4 separate regions of the Homo sapiens genome follow, and regions 1, 2 and 4 are each linked to region 3. The links are contacts of gene promoters, found by promoter capture Hi-C in human tissues and cell types (Jung and others, 2019). All regions are on one chromosome and are shown on one strand. The core of a region is centred on a gene start or on the middle of the fragment in contact, and the rest is flanking DNA. Distances in the headings are between cores, read along the strand shown. Region 1 overlaps NPHS1 (NPHS1 adhesion molecule, nephrin). Region 2 holds the start of LOC107985304 (a long non-coding RNA gene). Region 3 holds the start of CLIP3 (CAP-Gly domain containing linker protein 3). Region 4 holds the start of PRODH2 (proline dehydrogenase 2).

Region 1 (3,348 bases), core at 442-2,941, 200 kb after region 3:
AGGGTTTCACCATGTTGGCCAGGCTGGTCTCAAAGTCCTAACCTCAGGTGATCCACCTGCCTCAGTCTCTCAAAGTGCTGGGATTACAGACGTGTGCCACCACTCCTGGCCGCAAGCTTCTCCTTTCTGTTTTCCTCTTCCTGACAGAGCAGGCTTTTTCTCAATGGAAGTAAGGACACTTTTTCACCCCTACAATCTTCTCTGCTCTTCCCCCCACCCCACTCCAGTCTTCCCTTTGAACACTAAAACATAAAGTATGACACTTGCCTCCTTTGCTTTAGAACTTGTACCTTTATTAAGGGATCGAGAGCCCAAAGTCTTTTTTGGTTAACTCAACAAATTGATAATTCGGGTGAAAAGGACCTTGCACACCGAAAGTGCTCATCAACAGTTAATTTTTGGGCCAGGCATGGTGATGCATGCCTGTAGTCCCAGCTAATCAGGAGTCTGAGGCGGGAGGATAGCTTGAACCCAGGAGGTCGAGGCTGCAGTGAGCTATGATCATACCACTGCACTCCAGCCTGAGCGACAGAGTGAGACCCTGTCTCTTTAAAAAAAAAAAAATGGCCAGGCGCAGTGGCTCACGCCTGTAATCCCAGCACTCTGGAAGGCCGAGGTGGGCGAATCACGAGGTCAGGAGTTCGAGACTAGCCTGGCCAACATGGTGAAACCCCATCTCTACTAAAAATACAAAAAATTAGCCAGGCATAGTGGCAGGTGCCTGTAGTCCCAGCTACTTGGGAGGCTGAGGCAGGAGAATTGCTTGAACCCGGGAGGCAGAGGTTTCAGTGAGCTGAGATTGCGCCACTGCACTCCAGCCTGGGCAATAGAGAGAGGTTCAGTCTCAAAAAACAAATTATTCTTAGCATTAGCGTTACCATTAGAATTGCTATTAATAGTATTGTCATTATTATCAGCAATTTCTAGCTCTCTTTGAAATATTCTTAAGCAGTCATATACCAGTTCCCATGAATCTAATAGGCTTAAGAAGAGGCTGAGAAATATTTAAAGCTTATCTCAGATTCTTAGTGTTAAGTCACAATCTGTATATCCACCCCCCAGGTCTCCACCAGCCTTCTGGAGAACCTGAAGACCAGCTGCCCACAGAGCCACCTTCAGGCAAGTCCTCAGTCCCCTGATCCCTCCCGGCTCCCCTGAGAATGGAACCTCCTGGTCTCTGACCCTACCTCCTCTGCTTGTAGTCACAGCTGCTTAACGACTTAGTTCTGGCCAAGCTCAGTCGCTCACGCCTGTAATCCCAACACTTTGGGAGGCCAAGGCATGTGATCACTTGAGCCCAGGAGTTTGAGACCAGCTTGGGCAACATAGCAAGACTCCATCTTTGCAAAAATAAAAAATAGCTGGGTGTAGTGGCATGTGCCTGTAGTCCCAACTACTCAGAAGGCTGAGGTGGGAGGATTGCATAAGCCCAGGAGTTGGAGGATGCAGTGAGCTATGACTGAGCCACTGCACTCCAGCCTTGGCAACAGAGGGAGACCCTATCTCAAAAAAAAAAAAAAAAAAAAAAAAGACTTAGTTCTGTCCCTGCAGAATTGCAGACTTGCAGACTCCTTAGAGCTTCCTCTTTTTTCTTTCTTTCTTTCTTTTTTTTTTTTTTTTTTTTGAGACAGAGTCTCATTCTGTTGCCCAGGCTGGAGTGAAGTGGCAAAATCTTGGCTCACTGCAACCTCCACCTCCCAGGTTCAAGCGATTCTTTTGCCTTAGCCTCCCGAGTTGCTGGGATTACAGGCACCTGCCACCACACCTGGCTAATTGTTGTACTTTTTTAGTAGGGACGGGGTTTCACCATGTTGGCCAGGCTGGTCTCGAACTCCCGACCTCAAGTGATCTGCCTGCCTCAGCTTCCCAAAGTGCTGGGATAACAGGCATGAGCTACGGCACTCGGCATTTTTTTTTTTTATTTTTTTATTTTTTGAGATGGATTCTTGCTCTGTTTGTTGCCCAGGCTGGAGTGCAGTGGTGCGATCTCGGCTGACTGCTATCTCCACCTCCCGGCTTCCTCTCCTGCCTCAGCCTCCCGAGTAGCTGGGACTACAGGCACGTGCCAACACGCCCAGCTAATTTTTTGTATTTTTAGTAGAGATGAGGTTTCACCGCGTTAGCCAGGATGGTCTTTAACTCCTGACCTCATGATTCACCCACCTCAGCCTCCCAAAGTGCTGGGATTACAGGCGTGAGCCACTGCATCTGGCCAATTTTTTTTTTCTTAGATCTTCCTCTTGCCTGGAGTGATAAATTTTCTTCTCTTCCAAATTTAGTTTAATTCCGTAAGAATTAGCTCACTCCATGTCCTGTAAGAAGCCTGCATCAGTTAGCTTTTGCTGTATAATGAACCACCCCAAACATGGGTGCTTATAGCAACATTCTTCCTCATGATTCTGAGTCTGGCGGAACAGTGCTGGTCTGGGCTGGCTTAAATCATCTCTGCAGTCAGCTGGCAGCTCCACTGGACTGGGTGGTCTAGGGTTGCCCCCTTCCCACACTTCTGATAGTCATCTGGCTCTTGGTTGGAACAATGGAGATAACTGGGCGCGTGTCTCTTCTTGACTTTTTCACATGGAGGTGGTCACGGGGGTCAAAAGCAGCAATTTACTAGCTGATTCCGTCATAGTTGTGTCTCATTGGCCAAAGCAAGTCACATGGCTCAACACAGAGTCAGTGTGGAAAGGCCCCGCACTCAAGGATGTGACTACTGGGAGATGATTGCAACCATTTGGCAAAAAAATCCCCTTCAGAGCCCGAGAAAAAGGTTGCAAGTGACAGAAATGCAGCTGTTTTGTCAACACGAAAAAGAATGGCTTGGCTGGGCACAGTGGCTCATGCCTATAATCCCGGAACTTTGGGAGGCTGAGGCAGGTAGATCACTTGAGCCCAGACGTTGGAGACAAACCTGGGCAACATGGTGAAACCCCATCTCTATAAAACAAAAACAAAAAAAATTAGCCAGGCATGGCAGTGCATGCCTGCAGTCCCAGCTACTCAGGAGGCTGATGCGGGAGGATTGATTGAGCCCAGGAGGTTGAGCCTTCAATGAGCCGAGCTCACGCCACTGCACTGCAGCCTGGGCAACAGAGTTGAGACCCTGTCTCAAGAAAAAAAAGAAAAAGTCTTGGTATATGAAATAAAAAATTCCAAGTGTGGCCACTTTCAGGTGCTCAAAAATCTCACCAGCGATCTGTTTCTCACCCTCTCTCAACTTTGCCTTCATCTGTGGTGGCTTCTTTCTGAGTTTCTTCAATCAGAGGGGCAGAGAAGCCCTCCTCCACCTCCATCTTCTTGACAGCTAGTAGAATTGTCCTAAATGTTTTGTTAAAAACACACGTTGGG
Region 2 (3,358 bases), core at 120-2,619, 200 kb before region 3:
GCTAAGGGCTTGTCAATACTCCTTAGAAGCACAGGGTTTCTCTTCAGCATGACTTGCACGTTCGACGAAATGCAACATATGAGTAACAGTTCCCCCACATTCAGTAAATTCATAGGGTTTCTCTCCAGTATGAACACTCTGGTAACAGATGAGGTACAAACGTTTTAAACCAAAGACATTTACACTTAAAGGGGGTTAATACCATAAGGAGTAAGCTGTGGTAGAGAAGCTCCCAACTAAGTCCCTTGATGATTCTTTCCTACACAACCTCCCTCATGATTTCAGTCCAGGTTGTGTTTCAAACTGAAAACTTCAAAAAGGTGTGGCCTTAAAACAAATACGATCTGAGAACAGAGGAAGTATTTTTTCTTATATTCAACGCTCTTTTTCTCAGTCTTTCCTGGAGATGGATCAACATGCCTCCCAAGTCCTGGTGCCTCTCAAGTCCTGGTGCCTCTCTATCTGTGCATCATCTTCTCAGGCTTCTTCTAAAATGGAGTACAAAGAACCATAGCACAAAGGAGTTAAATTCATAAAGTGCCCAGAACCATGGCTGCCATATGGTAAGCCCTTCATTTTACCTTTATATTACTATCACTTTTATTTGTTAATTTTCCCATTACTAGCAATAAAATTTTTTGAGATTAACTCTGGTAGCCCATCTCCCAATATGAAAATAATCTATATTATTAATGCTTCCAACTAAATTATGAGAAGGGAACCCTACTTGAGGTGATCTAGGTAGAAAATTAACATTCATGGGTCCACAAAGCTGAAAGTACTCTTGAAAAATAACCTTTCCATTTCAGAATTTAGCAAGTTGTATAACAAATAATGAAGAATTGCCAAATAGAAGAAAAAGATGAAAATTAGAAAGTCTACCTGGGATGCTAAGGAAGAAAAATAATGTTCATCTTTCTTTCTTCTTTTTTTTTTTTTGAGACGGAATTTCGCTCGTTATCCAGGCTGGAGTGCAGTGGTGCGATCTCGGCTCACTGCAGCCTCCGCCTCCTGGGTTCAAGCAATTCTCTAGCCTCAGCCTCCTGAGTAACTGGGATTACAGGTGTGCACCACCATACCTGGCTAAATAATGCTCATCTTTCTAAGAAAAGGAATAGATCAACCAACAAGTGCTTCCTCCCAAAACCCCATTAAAATTATAAGGAGAAAATGGTACAAATTCCCTTATTCAAAAGGAATAAAGGATGGTGGCTGAAAAAAAAGTGTAAGGAACAGTTGAACATGCACTGTCCAGTCACGAGAACAAAGGACTGGACACACCTTCATATGAAATGGAAGTTTATCCCCTGCAGAATTTTAATCAGAGCTCAGGGGCATTCAGCAAATGAGATGACAGGAATGAGCTGCTATACGGAAATCAGAGATTAAACCCACATATATGGTAAGACCTGCAGCACCATTCTGCAGCTGAAGACAAAAGATGCTGGCTGGCCGGGCGCAGTGGCTCACGCCTGTAATCCCAGCACGTTGGGAGGCCGAGGTGGGCGGATCACGAGGTCAGGAGATCAAGACCATCCTGGCTAACACAGTGAAACCCCATCTCTACTAAAAATACAAAAAATTAGCCGGGCGTGGTGGCGAGCAACCAGATGCAAAGCTTGAACCCTGATTACATTCTGTAATTTTAAAAAACTATGGAAGGCATTCTGGGGACAATTGGAAAAATGTGAACATAGACTGGGTAGTCTAATATTAGGACAACATGGTTAATCTTCTAAGGTGTGAAACGGTATTTTGTTATATGGGAGAGCTCCCTTTTTTTTTGAGACAGTCTTGCTCTGTCGCCCAGGCTGTGTGGGGAAAAGAAAGAGAGATCAGACTGTTACTGTGTCTGTGTAGAAAGAAGTAGACATAAGAGACTCCATTTTGTTCTGTACTAAGAAAAATTATTCTGCCTTGAGATGCTGTTAATCTGTAACCCTACCCCCAACCCTGTGCTCACTGAAACATGTGCTGTGTCAACTCAGCGTTAAATGGATTAAGGGCTGTGCAGGATGTGCTTTGTTAAACAAATGCTTGAAGGCAGCATGCTCCTTAAGAGTCATCACCACTCCCTAATCTCAAGTACCCAGAGACACAACACACTACAGAAGGCCGCAGGGACCTCTGCCTAGGAAAGCCAGGTATTGTCCAAGGTTTCTCCCCATGTGATAGTCTGAAATATGGCCCCGCGGGAAGGGAAAGACCTGACCGTCCCCCAGTCCGACACCCGTAAAGGGTCTGTGCTGAGGAGGATTAGTAAAAAAGGAAGACCTCTTTGCAGTTGAGATAAGAGGAAGGCATCTGTCTCCTGCTCTTCCCTGGGCAATGGAATGTCTCCGTGTAAAGCTGGATTGTATATTCCATCTACTGAGATAGGGGAAAACCGCCTTAGGGCTGGAGGTGGGACATGCTGGCAGCAACACTGCTCTTTAAGGCATTGAGATGTTTATGTATATGCACATCAAAAGCACAGCACTTTTTTCTTTACCTTGTTTATGATGCAGAGACATTTGTTCACGTTTTCCTGCTGACCTTCTCTCCACTATTACCCTATTGTCCTGCCACATCCCCCTCTCCGAGAAACGCCCGATAATGATCAATAAATACTAAGGGAACTCAAGAGGCCGGTCCTCTTGAGAGGTCCTCCGTATGCAGGTCCTCCCTAACGCCGGTCCCCTGGGCCCATTTTTCTTTCTCTATACTTTGTTTCTGTGTCTCTTTCTTTTCCAAGTCAGTCCTTCCACCTGACGAGAAACGCCCACAGCTGTGGAGGGGAAACCCACCCCTTCAGGCTGGTGTGCAGTGGTGCGATCTCGACTCACTGCAACCTCGGCCTCCTGGCTTCAAGTGATTCTTGAAGCCTCAACCTCCCAAGTAGCTGGGATTACAGGCATGCATCACCACGCCTAATTTTTGTATTTTTAGTAGAGACAGGATTTCACTATGTTGGCCAGGCTGGTCTGGAACTCCTGACATCTGGTGATCTGCCCGTATCTGCCTCCCAAGTGCTGGCACTACAGGCGTGAGCCACCACGCCTGGCCAGGAGCTGCTTTTCTTGGTAGAAAATACATATTTAATTTTTTAGAAGTAAAACATCATGATGCCTCAGCACACAAAATAAACACATGGATACGGACATACAAAAGCGTGGCAAAATATTAATTATTCAATCCACATGGGGGGTACATAAGAGATTCTTTAACTATTCCTTCAGCATTTGTTATATTTAAAAAATGTTCATATGAAAAAATAATTGAATGGCTGGGCATGGTGACTCACACCTGTAATCCCAGCACTGTGGGGCCAAGAGTTTAAGACAAGCCTGGCCAACATGGTGAAACCTCGTCTCTACTA
Region 3 (3,304 bases), core at 563-3,062:
AGCCACGTAGGGATTTGGAGGAAGAGCATTCCGGGCATCACAAAGAGCCGTTGCAGGCCAGGCACGGTGGCTCACGCCTGTCGTCCCAGCACTTTGGGAAGCTGAGGCAGGCAGATAACCTAAGGTCAGGAGTTTGAGACCAGCCTGGCCAACATGGCGAAACCCCGTCCCTACTAAAAATACAAAAATTAGCTGGGTGTGGTGGCACAGGCCTGTAATCCCAGCTACTCGGGAGGCTGAGGCAGGAGAATCACTTGAACCTGGAAGACAGAGGTTGCAGTGAGCAGAGATCATGCCACTCCACTCCAGCCTGGGGAACAGTGAGACTGCCATCTCAAAAAAAAAAAAAAAAAAGAGCCAGTGCAAAGGTCCTGGGGTAGGGAGAAGCAAGGAGGCCAGTGTGGCTGGGGTGGAGTGAACAAAAGAGGGTGAGAGGAGGTGAGTGCAGAGATGATGGGGCAGGTTCACATAGGCCCTTGTGGGCCATGGCTGAGAGCCTTGGCTTCTACCTGGAGTGAGGTGCAGCAGGCAGACCCCTCTGAGGGAAAGAGGGCTCCAAAGTGACAGGTGTTCATGGGTCCCTGTGGCTGCATGTTGGAGGAGGACGGGGACAGCAGGTAAGAGGCTGCTGCCGTAGTGCTGGTGGCAGAAGAAGAAGGATGGACCAAGATGAGGGCCCAGGGTAGCGGTGGGGAGAGTGAGATCCTGGAAATCTTTTGGAGATGGAGCTACTGGACCTGTGCATTAGAAGGATGAGGTGTTCAAGGCTGTCACCCAGCCCCATCCAGGCTGGGATGATTTGAGGCAGAGCAGGCTACAGCTCCAGGTGGGAAGCCAAGCCATGACAATGGAGCCAGGACCCTGGGCTGGCTTCAGGAGGCCTCCGTGGGGAAGATACAGGTTCTGAGAGAGTTGGAGGGGTCAATCGGCAGATCTGTTTCCCAGACACTGCTACAGGCATGTAGCATGGTGATTAAGAATCAAAGCTGGGCATGGTGACTCGTGCCTGTAATCTCAGCGCTTTGGGTGGCAGGGGCAGGAGGATCCCTTGAGGTCAGGAGTTCAAGACCAGCCTGGGCAACATGGCAAAACCCTGTCTCAAAAAAAATTCTCCAGACATGGTGGCATGCACGTGTGGTCTCGGCTACTCGGGAGGTTGAGGTGGGAGGATGGCTTGAGCCCAGAAGTTTGACGCTGCAGTGAGCCAAGATCACAACACTGCACAGTAGCCTGGGTGACAGAGTGAGACCCTGTCTAGGAAATAATAAAAATAAAAATCAGACTTTACAGACTGTCTGGTTTCAAATGTTCGCTCCATCACCTACTCATGTACTTTTGGGCAAGCTGCTTAACCTCTGGGCCCCAGTGTGTGAGCCTCGCATTATGATGGTAAGGATGAGATGATCATGATAGGAGTCTCTAGGAAATCACCCCTCTGAGGCACCCATTATGAATGGTGAGCTTGGAGAAGGGGTCCGGTCTAGGGTCCTAGAGAGAGGGTCCCCTAGAGGGTCCCCATCGTCACCACGCCCCAAGACCACTGCCCTCACCGGCCTGGTTTGCAGGCGTGGGGGAAGGGGATGGAGAAGATCTGTGTCCGCTCTCTCAGCCCTCTCTTTTGCCGTTGTATCTGCTCATCTCGCTCCTTTCCGTAGCCATCTCTTCCTCTCCCAGTGCCCGGAGGCTCTCCCCTTTCAGTCGCCGCCTCTGGCCCCTCCATCAATGCGAGCGCCTCCCGGTCCCTCCTCCTGGTCCCTCCTCCCCCGCCGCCGGTAGGGGGGCAGCAGGCGCATGCGCAGTCGCGCCCCTCCCTCTCCGCCCCCACCCCCTGTCGGCGTCTGGGCCTCGTCCCCTTCTCTCTGTCTCCCTTGCCTCCCCCATCACGTCCCCTGACACCGACACCCCATTGCTCCCACAGTCTCCCCAGTCTCCACTTTGGTCCCCAGCGCTGTCTGCCCGAGGTAAGATGGGGAGGGGGCGGCCCGCGGAGAAGGGGAGGGGCGAAGCATCCTGAATCCCGAGATAAACAAACCCGGGGAGGGGGCAGCCGCGACTGAGGGGCCTGACGCGGGAGGAGAAGAATGGGGGGCTGGGCCTGGGGGAGGTGGCAGGCGCTGGGCGCACACACCGGGGCCCTCTATGGGTAACGGGGGTCCCTATGGTTGCCCAAGATCCAGTTGCGCGGAGGCCACCCGGGGCCCTGGAAGCTCCTAGGGGCTTGGACCCTGGAGCCTGCCGGGCACCCTCTCCAGCTGACCTCTGCCTCCAGGATTTGCCTGAAGGCTGCCCCCAACTCTGCACCCGCCCCCCGAGGGCCACCGAGGACCATGACTAAGACAGATCCTGCCCCGATGGCCCCGCCACCCCGAGGAGAGGAGGAAGAAGAGGAGGAGGAGGATGAACCCGTCCCCGAGGCCCCCAGCCCCACCCAGGAGCGCCGGCAGAAGCCTGTTGTGCACCCCTCGGCACCTGCCCCCCTCCCTAAGGACTACGGTAACCACTGTCCCCACCCTGGAATCTGGCCTGGAGCGTTGGGTGGCCGGGGAGGGTGGGCTGTGCTCTGCTGGTGGTGATGGTGGGAGAATTCTGGGGAATTTGAAGGTGGTCCAGAGGAATCTTGGCTGCAGAGCACCCCTCGTTAATTCATTCATTCACCCATTGGAGAATGGAATTGTAATACTCCTAGTCTTTGACTCATGACACATCATTCCATCATTTAGTCATTCAACAATCATTTTTTGAAAGCGGCTGTGGACCTGGCTTTATGCTAGGGGCTGGGGCCACAGCAGGGGGCAAGAGAGACCCAGTCTTTGCCCTGAGACAACTCACAGGCCTCAGTAACAGCCACACAAATAGGTATTAAACCATAATGTAATTTTTCACATTTAGGTTTATATGCAAGAAAGAAAAATATAATGTAATATAAATATGTAATTACAAGACATTATGAAAATTGTATTTACCATAAACAAGCTGCTGCAAGAGTTTTTTAAGACATTGTTTCCCTGAGGAGGTTACAGTTGAGAAGACTGGAGGGTGAGTTGGGGTTAACTAAGAGAAGGGTCAGGGGAAAGGGCTCCCAGGAGAGGTAACCGCTGGGTAAAGGATCTGAGGTAGGAGGGTATGGAGCTGAGAGGGCGGCCTCTTGGAGAAACTGAAAGTGTCTAATCATTGACCGAGCGATATTTATCGAGTGCTGCTACTCTGTGACAAGCCTTATGCTGGGTGCCGGAGATTTAATCCTAAGTGATCCAGGCATGATCCTCCCTTGCAGGAGAGAAGGAGAGACTAAACAAGTGAACAG
Region 4 (3,366 bases), core at 373-2,872, 220 kb after region 3:
GTGGTGGGTGCCTGTAGTCCCAGCTACTCAGGGGGCTAAAGCAGAAGAATCACTTGAACCCGGGAGATGGGGGTTGCAGTGAGCCGAGATCGCACCACTGCACTCCAGCCTGGGTGACAGAGCAAGGATACGTCTAACAAAACAAAACAAAAAAATTAAGACATATGGTTTCCATTTTAAAAAAAGAAAATAGGATATAGAAGTCCCCATATCCCTCTACCCCATTACAATTCCTCCCATCCCCCACAATCAACCACCTCTCTGACTTCTGTGATAATCATGTCCTTACTTTTCTTGTCCTCATAGTTTGACCACCCACGCATGTATTCCCAACATTTTACTGCAGTTTCACTTTCCTTGCTTTTATATTTATTGAAAAGTATAGACCAGCCACAGTGGCTCATGCCTGTAATCCCAGCACTTTGGAAGGCTGAGGCGGGCAGATCACCTGAGGTCGGGAGTTCAAGACCAGTCTGACCAACATGGAGAAACCCTGTCTCTACTAAAAATACAAAATTAGTGGGGCGTGGTGGCACATGCCTGTAATCCCAGCTACTCTGGAAGCTGAGGCAAGAGAATCGCTTGAACCCGGGGGGTGAAGGTTGCAGTGAGCTGAGATTGTGCCATTGCACTCTAGCCTGGGCAACAAGAGTGAAACTGTGTCTCAAAAAAAAAAAAAAAAAAAAAAAAAAAAGAATAATACAGCTTGCCCTGTTTGGTGTCTGGCTTCTTTCACTTGACATTGTGAGATTCAGCCACACAGTTGTGTGTATCAGTATCCATTCTTTTTCATTACTGTATAGTATTCCATTGCATAACTACACCACCATATATGTATCCATTCTCCTTTTGATGGACATTTGGGTAGTTCAGACACTGCTCCTCTGAACATTCTTTCCTGTACATGTTTCCTGCTGTCCATGTTTAAGGTCTCTAGGATATGTACTTAGCATGGAACAGCTGGGTTATATAGGTTATTTGTCTTTTCTTTTTTCTTTTTTTGGCGACAGAGTCTCACTTTGTCACCCAGGGTGGAGTGCAGTGGCACAATCACAGCTCACTGCACCCTTGACCTCCCAGGCTCAAGAGATCCACCTTCCTCGGCCTCCTGAGTAGCTAGGACCACAGGTGTGTGCCACCACACACAGTTAATTTTTGTATTTTTTGTAGAGATGGGGTCTCACTATGTCGCCCAGGGTAGTCTCAAACTCCTCGGTCTTGGCCTCCCAAAGTGTTGGGATTACAAACGTGAGAACCGTATTTTCAAATGTATTCAATAACACTACAGCGTTTCCAATTTTAAGAGGAAGCAATTGCCACAAAAGTGATTAAGTAGCCTGTCCTGGATCACAAAGCCCGGTGTCCTGAGCCCAGGGATCCTTGCTCCGGAGCCCCTGCTTTCCCCAGCACATGGTGGTTACCTAATAAGTGCAGGCTGTTGTGCTGAGCATTCTTGGGGGCTGTTACTGGGGTTCACCTCCCGTTTCCGTTACTCTGAACTCTGTCCCCATTTGTTAATAATTAATTGCCCCCAAGGAGCCTGTGATCCTGAGGCTTTGCCCAGTTAATCAGTCACTGCCCCTGGTCTGGGCAAGGGGCAGTTGGTGAACTTGCTGCCTCCAGAGAACCTTCCCTGGTGTGGAGGCAGCCAGGGACCCAGGATGCTCCGGACCTGTTACGTGCTCTGTTCCCAAGCTGGTCCCCCCTCCAGGGGCTGGCAGTCCCTGAGCTTTGATGGCGGGGCCTTCCACCTTAAGGGCACAGGAGAGCTGACACGGGCCTTGCTGGTTCTCCGGCTGTGTGCCTGGCCCCCACTCGTCACTCACGGGCTGTTGGTGAGCAGTGATCCTGAGGACCAGCCTGGAGGCTCCTCATAGCCTGGCGCTGAGCCCTCGCTCCCTGTCACCCAGCTCCAGGCCTGGTCTCGGCGACTCCTGGGCTCCCGGCTCTCAGGCGCATTTCTCCGAGCATCCGTCTATGGGCAGTTTGTGGCTGGTGAGACAGCAGAGGAGGTGAAGGGCTGCGTGCAGCAGCTGCGGACCCTCAGCCTCCGACCACTGCTGGCAGTGCCCACTGAGGAGGAGCCGGACTCTGCTGCCAAGAGTGGGTGAGTAGGGAGCCAGGGCCCAGGGAGGCTGGGAGGACGCAGGAAGGGGCTTTGCTGTTCGGGCCCTGACACCTGCTGGCTGGGCAGTGAGGCGTGGTATGAGGGGAACCTCGGTGCTATGCTGCGGTGTGTGGACCTGTCACGGGGCCTCCTGGAGCCCCCCAGCCTGGCTGAGGCCAGCCTCATGCAGCTGAAGGTGACGGCGCTGACCAGTACTCGGCTCTGTGTAAGGAGTGCAAAGACGGGGGTGCGGGGAGGGCGCGGCTGCCCATCGGGCTCCCCTCACCACCCCGCCTACCACCCCATTTCAGAAGGAGCTAGCCTCGTGGGTCAGAAGGCCAGGAGCCTCCTTGGAGCTGAGCCCCGAGAGGCTGGCTGAAGCTATGGACTCTGGGCAGGTAAGGATCTCAAGCGGGACTGTCGGGGACAGAGTGCCTTGGACTTAGATGCGGCCACACCGCACGCCAGATGTTCAAAATGCTACGGCCACCTCCAGGCTTGGAACAGCCAGCAGAAGTGCAGCTGTAGCTCCCAGGCATGGTTGAAATGGATGGAATCAGGGTCATCTGGGTTCTCAGGGAGGAGCCTGGAGGCTGGAGGCTCTCAGAGGAGGGATTGGGATAGAAGCTGTTTATCAATTAGAAGGAGGTACATCAGTGTGTTCTCAGTCAACACAGCTGCATGGGTGTGAGCTGGCTGGGTGTAAGTTCTGATTAGGCCAATGGGGTCTTAGTTTGTTCATTCAATCATTAATTCCTTTTTATCTCCACATTCTCTTTCAACCCTACTCCATCTTTTTTTCTTTCTTTCTCTCTCTCTCCTTCCTTCCTCTTCCTCTTTTGCTCTCTCTCCTTCCTTCCTTCTTTTCTTTTTCCTTCTCTCCCCTCCCTCCCTCCCTCCCTTCCTTCCTTCCTTCCTTTATTCCTTCCTTCCTTCCTTCTCTCTCCTCCCTCCTCTCTCTCTCTCTCTCTCTTTCTCTTTGTCTTACTGTATTGCACAGGGTGGTCTCTAACTCATGGCCTCAAGCAATCCCCCAGCCTCAGCCCCCCAAAGTTCTGGGATTATAGGTGTGAGCCACCACACCCAGCCTGCCGTCTTGTATAATGCATATCTTTTTGTTTCTATGATTTTGTTTTGCCAGGTGTATACCATTCGTGGGGGGCATATTTTCCCCAATATTCTATTATAAAAATTTTCAAATATACAGAAAAGTAAAAAGAATTGTACATGAACATCCATGCCCCCGCCACCTTTAACTA

Evidence for each region. Contacts are between HindIII fragments. The study calls those that stand out against the background at their distance.
Region 1: a contact is called between a fragment that was not itself captured here and the fragment with the promoter of CLIP3 in region 3, in 4 of the 25 tissues and cell types used here (H1 embryonic stem cells, IMR-90 fibroblasts, lymphoblastoid cells and 1 more).
Region 2: a fragment that was not itself captured here is called in contact with the fragment with the promoter of CLIP3 in region 3 in 3 of the 25 tissues and cell types used here (dorsolateral prefrontal cortex, psoas muscle and stomach).
Region 4: a contact is called between the fragment with the promoter of PRODH2 here and the fragment with the promoter of CLIP3 in region 3, in 1 of the 25 tissues and cell types used here (spleen).

Annotation. Positions count from the first base shown.
Region 1 is chr19:35,833,476-35,836,823 of GRCh38, reverse strand. It overlaps NPHS1 (NPHS1 adhesion molecule, nephrin), which reads left to right. Exons shown (of 29, transcript NM_004646.4): 23 at 1,063-1,119. Among named protein-coding and RNA genes, the nearest start is that of NPHS1, 17 kb to the left of the region's middle. The HindIII fragment of the contact is 3,619 bases long and covers 1-3,348 here.
Region 2 is chr19:36,232,789-36,236,146 of GRCh38, reverse strand. ZNF146 (zinc finger protein 146) reads right to left here. Exons shown (of 4, transcript NM_007145.3): 4 at 1-488. LOC107985304 (a long non-coding RNA gene) reads left to right here and starts at 395. Exons shown (of 2, transcript XR_001753933.3): 1 at 395-563. It also overlaps a transcript of ZNF565 not described here. RefSeq lists enhancers at 1,571-2,072, 2,073-2,575. The HindIII fragment of the contact is 4,389 bases long and covers 1-3,358 here.
Region 3 is chr19:36,031,381-36,034,684 of GRCh38, reverse strand. It overlaps CLIP3 (CAP-Gly domain containing linker protein 3), which reads left to right and starts at 1,812. Exons shown (of 14, transcript NM_015526.3): 1 at 1,812-1,961; 2 at 2,270-2,493. The coding sequence starts at 2,328. All of the region lies in intron 3 of LOC101927572 (a long non-coding RNA gene), which reads right to left. The HindIII fragment of the contact is 12,641 bases long and covers 1-3,304 here.
Region 4 is chr19:35,811,101-35,814,466 of GRCh38, reverse strand. It overlaps PRODH2 (proline dehydrogenase 2), which reads left to right and starts at 1,622. Exons shown (of 10, transcript NM_021232.2): 1 at 1,622-1,835; 2 at 1,911-2,107; 3 at 2,195-2,333; 4 at 2,419-2,505. The coding sequence starts at 1,662. The HindIII fragment of the contact is 15,660 bases long and covers 1-3,366 here.